2 separate regions of the Homo sapiens genome follow, and region 1 is linked to region 2. The links are contacts of gene promoters, found by promoter capture Hi-C in blood cells and fetal thymus (Javierre and others, 2016). All regions are on one chromosome and are shown on one strand. The core of a region is centred on a gene start or on the middle of the fragment in contact, and the rest is flanking DNA. Distances in the headings are between cores, read along the strand shown.

The links. Contacts are between HindIII fragments. The CHiCAGO score rates a contact against its expected background, and 5 or more counts as called.
Region 1: a fragment that was not itself captured here is called in contact with the fragment with the promoter of ABHD17C in region 2 in 2 of 17 cell types (M1 macrophages and M0 macrophages); the score reaches 6.9 in M1 macrophages.

What each region holds. Positions count from the first base shown.
Region 1 is chr15:80,966,573-80,969,272 of GRCh38, reverse strand. It overlaps a transcript of MESD not described here. Among named protein-coding and RNA genes, the nearest start is that of MESD, 22 kb to the left of the region's middle. RefSeq lists an enhancer at 2,156-2,671. The HindIII fragment of the contact is 1,073 bases long and covers 818-1,890 here.
Region 2 is chr15:80,693,877-80,696,576 of GRCh38, reverse strand. ABHD17C (abhydrolase domain containing 17C, depalmitoylase) reads right to left here and starts at 1,267. Exons shown (of 3, transcript NM_021214.2): 1 at 558-1,267. The coding sequence starts at 1,147. RefSeq lists silencers at 444-503, 924-973, 1,064-1,483, 1,504-1,613, 1,634-1,793 and 1 more and an enhancer at 664-733. The HindIII fragment of the contact is 4,321 bases long and covers 1-2,700 here.

The DNA of each region.
Region 1 (2,700 bases), core at 105-2,604, 270 kb before region 2:
GGACATCCTTACCTAACTGTGACATGCTACCCACTGTGTGCAGGTCTTTACATACTTTATTTCATTTACTCTCATTTTATTTTCAGTTAGGGTCTCACTCTGTTGCTCACGCTGGAGTGCACTGGCACGATGGCAGCTCACTGCAGCCTCGACCTCCAGGCTCAAGTGGTCCTCCCACCTCAATCTCCTGGGTAGCTGGGACCACAGGTGTGCACCATCACACCCAGCTAATTTTTTAATATTTTTTGTAGAGACAGGGTCTCCCTATGTTGCCCTGGCTGGTCTTGAACTCCTGGGTTCAAGCAATCCTCCCACCTTGACCTCCCAAAGTGTTGGGATTACAGGTGTGAACCACTGTGCCCGACCTCATTTACCCTTCACAACCCCACAAGGTTGGTATTAGTTAACATTTACTATGTGGCCCTTTGAAGCACAGTTCTGGTGTTGGACTTCCCAGCTCTGCATTTTATTAGCTGTATCATGTTGGACAAGTTATTTAAGGACCTCACTCATCTAAGCCTGTAGGTGCTAATAAAAGTTCCCATTTCAGAGAAGTATTATAAGGATTAAATGAGCAAGTCCCTGTGAAGCACTTAACACAGCTTTCTTTTTTATTTTATTTTTAAAGTAAAGAGGTGGGGTCTCACTATTTTACCTTGGCTGGTCTTAAACTCCTGAGCTCAAGCGATCCTCCCACCTTGGCCTTCCAAAGGAGTACAGGTGTGAGCCACTGTGCCTGGCCAACAGAGCTTTCAGTACATGTTAACTATTATCATTTGTGTGTGTGTTTTGTGCTTCAGGTGACTAGACAGAAGCTTGTAGGGGTTAAGCCCCTTGCTGAGAGTCACAGCTAGGAGAAGGCAGGATAACATCCTGCCTGGGCTGTTTTCTTCTGGAGGCACTGCAGTTTTCACTGTGGCTTGACACTCTAAGGGAGGGGCTGGGATGGAATTCTACATGGGCCACAGAGATTGCTCCAGAAGGAGAATGGCCACCTTGCCCAGTGTAGGGTATGCCAGAGCAGAGCGGGTCAGCTTCCTTCCAGGCAGAAACATCTGCCGTTCCCACCACCTTGGTGCTCTGCTCTCAGATACCTGCATGGCTGAGGACCTGCTCTCAGGTGAGATGGTTTGCCCTGAAAGGGGCAGAGCTGCCAGAGTCCAAGCGGTCTGCAGGAGACTGCAGTTTGACCATGCTGCTTGCTGGTACAAGGAAATTTTTGGTAGGCAGATTTCAGGAGGTCCCACGCAAGTGTCACAAGCCAGAAACTTGAGATGTTGGACCCCTTTCCACTTGATCCAGCATCTGGGAAAACCTGAGCCTGCAGTTGGGGCCACTTGGCCAACTCTCCATAGATCTTGTTGAATCAGCTTAAACCTGGGCTTGTCAAATTCTGGATCTCAGCAGCCCAACTTGCAATTTTAAATCTTTGACCACTGTTCCCTGGCAGACCTAGGGCAATTTTTGTTTTCTCCAGAGAAGTCTGCCGAAGTTTCTGAGGTGAAGTTTCCAAGCTGATGAATTGGAAGCCCAGACTTGGCAGCTCTCAGCCAAGGAGGGCTGCAGTTGGTGGAATGTGAAGAATGCCCAGGGACATCTGGTCTGCCTTGCATCTGTTTTTCAGGCCAGCCCGCATTCTTCCTGCAGGAGAGAGCTTCAGCCATAGGCCTAGAAACACTGGGGCCCCTTTGATCCATGCCTCCTACCTCAGCTCCAAGTTGGACGACATTGAGTGCCATACTTGCTTTCCCTGGGCCTTACCTCTTCTATAAACAGGGTGGCAAGTCCTGCCAGGCCTGGGATTTACATGCCAGGGTCTGGAAGAAACAAGACAATAGGGATCCTTATTCTAATGCAAAGGAGGTCCCTGACTCCCTTAGGATAGAAGCTTCCTTACAAATTCTCTGAGGTCCTTGCTCTAAATTAAAACTCCCTGAGGGCTCCTACTTCTTTTCTTTTCTTTTTTCTTTTTCTTTTTTTGAGATGGAGTTTCACTCTTGTTGCCCAGGCTGGAGTGCAATGGTGTGATCTCGGTTCACCACAACCTCCACCTCCCGGGTTCAAGTGATTCTCCTGCCTCAGCCTCCCAAGTAGCTGGGATTACAAGCATGCACCACCATGCCCAGCTAATTTTGTATTTTTAGTAGAGGCGGGGGTTTCTTCATGTTGGTCAGGCTGGTCTCGAACTCCTGACCTCAGGTGATCTGCTCACCTAAGCCTCCCAAGTGCTAGGATTACAGGAGTGAGCCACTGCGCCCGGCCAAGGGCTTCTACTTCTAGTTTTAAAATCAATGCCTTGAGCGCATCACCTCGATGGGCCTCAGTTGGAATGGGCCAGCATTTCCCAGAGGAATTTAACCAGCGGAACTGCCCAATAAGGAGGAGTTGGCCACTTCAAGCCAGTTATTTGGGCTTTTGAGATGCAGAATCAGGAGGAAGAGAAGAGGTGCAAAGGTTGTGGAGCAGAGAGGCAGCAGGGTATGGAAGAAGAGGGCCTGAATCAAATACACACACCCACAGTGTACAGTGGCAACTATGCAAGGTGCTTGTAGCTTGCAACAGAGGGATTTTCCAAGGGAGGCCAGAGAAAAGCTTCCTGGAGCAGGTGGCCACTAAGCTGAGATTTGAGCAGGCATGAGTGGACACAGAGGCAGCCTGGAAGCTGGGGGCAGTGGCACAGCAGGAGGGGTGGAAGCTTGG
Region 2 (2,700 bases), core at 18-2,517:
CCAGGAGGCAAACTCCCCGCTCCACCTGACGCTCCAGCTGTTTCCAAGGTTGCCCAGACATTGTCCTGCCCGCACTTTACAACCAGAAAGTCTTTTAGAGGCCATCCTGTCTCGCCCACTGACTTTACAGGGAAGGAAACTGAGTCTAGAAACCCATGTGCCTTGCCCAAGGTCACTTCAGCTCGTACAAACGAAACTCGAACCAAGTTGTTTCTTTCTGCCCGGTACTTAAGCACCCACACTCTGCCACTCGCGGTGACCGGAGCCACAAAAGACCCAGCCGGTGGGCCGGCGACACACAGGCGAGCCAAAGCAGGCAAAATTCTCTGAGTCCGAGCTCTCCAGGAACCTGAAGGCTGGCGCGGTTTTTGGAGAGGGTGGGAGCAAGCCAGGGTGGGACAAGAAAAGCGAATTTACGGCGGCCAAGGGGCTCTCCGCTGGCCCTCAGCCCCGGAGGAGGGGCCCCTCTCCTGGCAGGCCGCCCCAGGGGCCCCAAGAGACCCCCACCCCGCCTCCCCACAGCTGGAAGTCAGGCCTGGCGACCCCGGCAGGCTCACCGGGTGCGCAGCGCCTGCCACGCGGCGTCGATGTCGGCGTAGAGGTTCTTCTCGGAGGGCTTGCCCGAGCTGACGCCGTATCCCGAGTAGTCGTAGGAGAAGATGTTGCAGTTGATGCGGGAGCCGAGGCCAATGTAGAAGCTGCACATCTGGCCCAGGTCCACGGCGTTGCCGTGCGAGAAGAGCAGCGTGTAGCGGCTGGAGGGCGCGCAGCGCACGAACATGCAGCCGAGCCGGTTGTCCCGGGCCGTGCGCGAGAAGAAGACCTCGACGGCGTCCAGCTCGCGCTGCGAGTACTGCCAGTCGGCGCGCTCGCTGAGGTGCAGGCTGCACGCACCGGGCCCCGCGCCCGCGCCCTCCTCGGGCTGCTGCGGTGCCGGCTGGGCCGCGGCGGCGGCGGCGGTAGCCTGGGCCGGGGCCGGGGCGGACGCGCCGGCGCCGCGCTGCTCCGGCGCCAGCACCGTGTAGGTGGGCTCGGGCGGCAGGAAGGCCAGCTTGGCGGCGATGCGGCTCGGGCAGGGCGGGCAGCAGAAGAGCCAGCACAGCTCACCCAGCGAGAAGCCGTTCATCCTGGGGCCTGGCTCGGGCATCGGGACGGCCTGGTGCCCGCCGCCGGCCCGGCTGGCTGGCTGGCTGGCTGGCCCGGGAGGACGGAGGACGGACGCGCGGCGAGGGAGCTGGCAGGCGAGCGCGGAGGGCGGCTGCAGCCCGCCCGCCCGGCGGCAGGAGGAGGCGGAGGCGGAGGAGGGCAGGAGGCGGGGCCGGCCCGGCGGGCGCGGCGCTCGGAGCCCGGGCGGGTCAGCGGCGGCCCCGGAACCCAGGCGAGGCGCGGGCGGCCCGGGCCCGCGCGCGGCACACAAAGCCGGCGGCGGCGTCCATGGCCGGCTCGTGCGCGCCGCCCCCCGCTCCCGTTCCCGCTCCCGCACGCCCGCCGCCGCCGCCGCCGCCGCCGCCACTTCCGGGTTACCGCGCGGCGGCGCCGCCGCTGGGACGCGGCGCAGAGCCGGGCATCGGGGCGGGGCGCTGCGGGCAAGGGCGCGGGCACCTTCCCCGGCCTGGGAAGCACCTTCTCGACCTGCGGCCGACGGGGGCTTCCAGGCGGCTCCGGGGCCCGGAGAAGCTGGGTGCCGGGGCTGGGGGCTCTGCGCCCGGACAGCTGGGCCGATCTGCAGAGGGGACCCTGGAGGGGGTGCATGTGTCCCGGGGTGGACCGCTCCCCTCCCCTCCCCCTGGGATTCCCTCCCCCAAATCCAGGTTTCTCCCGTGGATGGAGGTTCTTGGGAGTCTACTGAAAAGGAAACTAAGGGGTGGACAAGAGTTGGAATGTGCCCGAAATATTTGGCTCTCGTGTGTGCTGCTTTCTGAACTGGCTCAGTACCAAAAGTTCTCAGCACCGTAAGGGGTACCGGGGTTGTGGGATAGGGTGGTCATCAGTGTGTTTCTTATTAGGAGAGGCTGTTTCTGTATAGGTAGCAACAGCGTTTCCTTTCTAAGGGCATGGTTTTACCCTTAGTACATTTCTGTATCTATAAAAGTCAGCTGTTAGAACAGGAGGGTACTGTATTTAGCAACAAACCATGTTGAGGTTGTCATTTCTAATCCCACGTGTGGCAGATTTTCCGGTAGTAAGTATATACTAGGTATCGTTTACAGTGTTTGTGTCTCTAGAGTTGTTTTGGGTCCAGGATTTTTCAGTGGTCTTAGTCATGAACGATTCTTATACTGCTTTAAATCTACTGTAATCTTGGCAGCCACCTTTACATGATTTTTCAAATATAACTCTCGGTGCCTTGAAACTGTGCTCTGGTGCCAGTTTCCACAGAGCCTTCTATACTTCCTTTTTCCCGCCTGATTTGGCAGCTGAAGAATTCCCTTTCAGGAACTGACAGGAGATACCCTTCCTGGACTGCCAGCAGGGCAGCTAGAGACTGGGAGGTTGGCACAATCCCTACGCTGGGTCTGTTGTTTTAACTCACAGATGTCCTGAGAATTTTACCTTTCGTTGTGACTTTCCACAGGACGAATATTTTGAGCACCGTCATCTAAATGAATTGCCGATACTGATTTCATTAACCTTCAGGACCTCGCTTTTAATTTTTTCTTTTTTAAGAGACAGGGTCTTACTGTATTGTCCAGGCTGGAC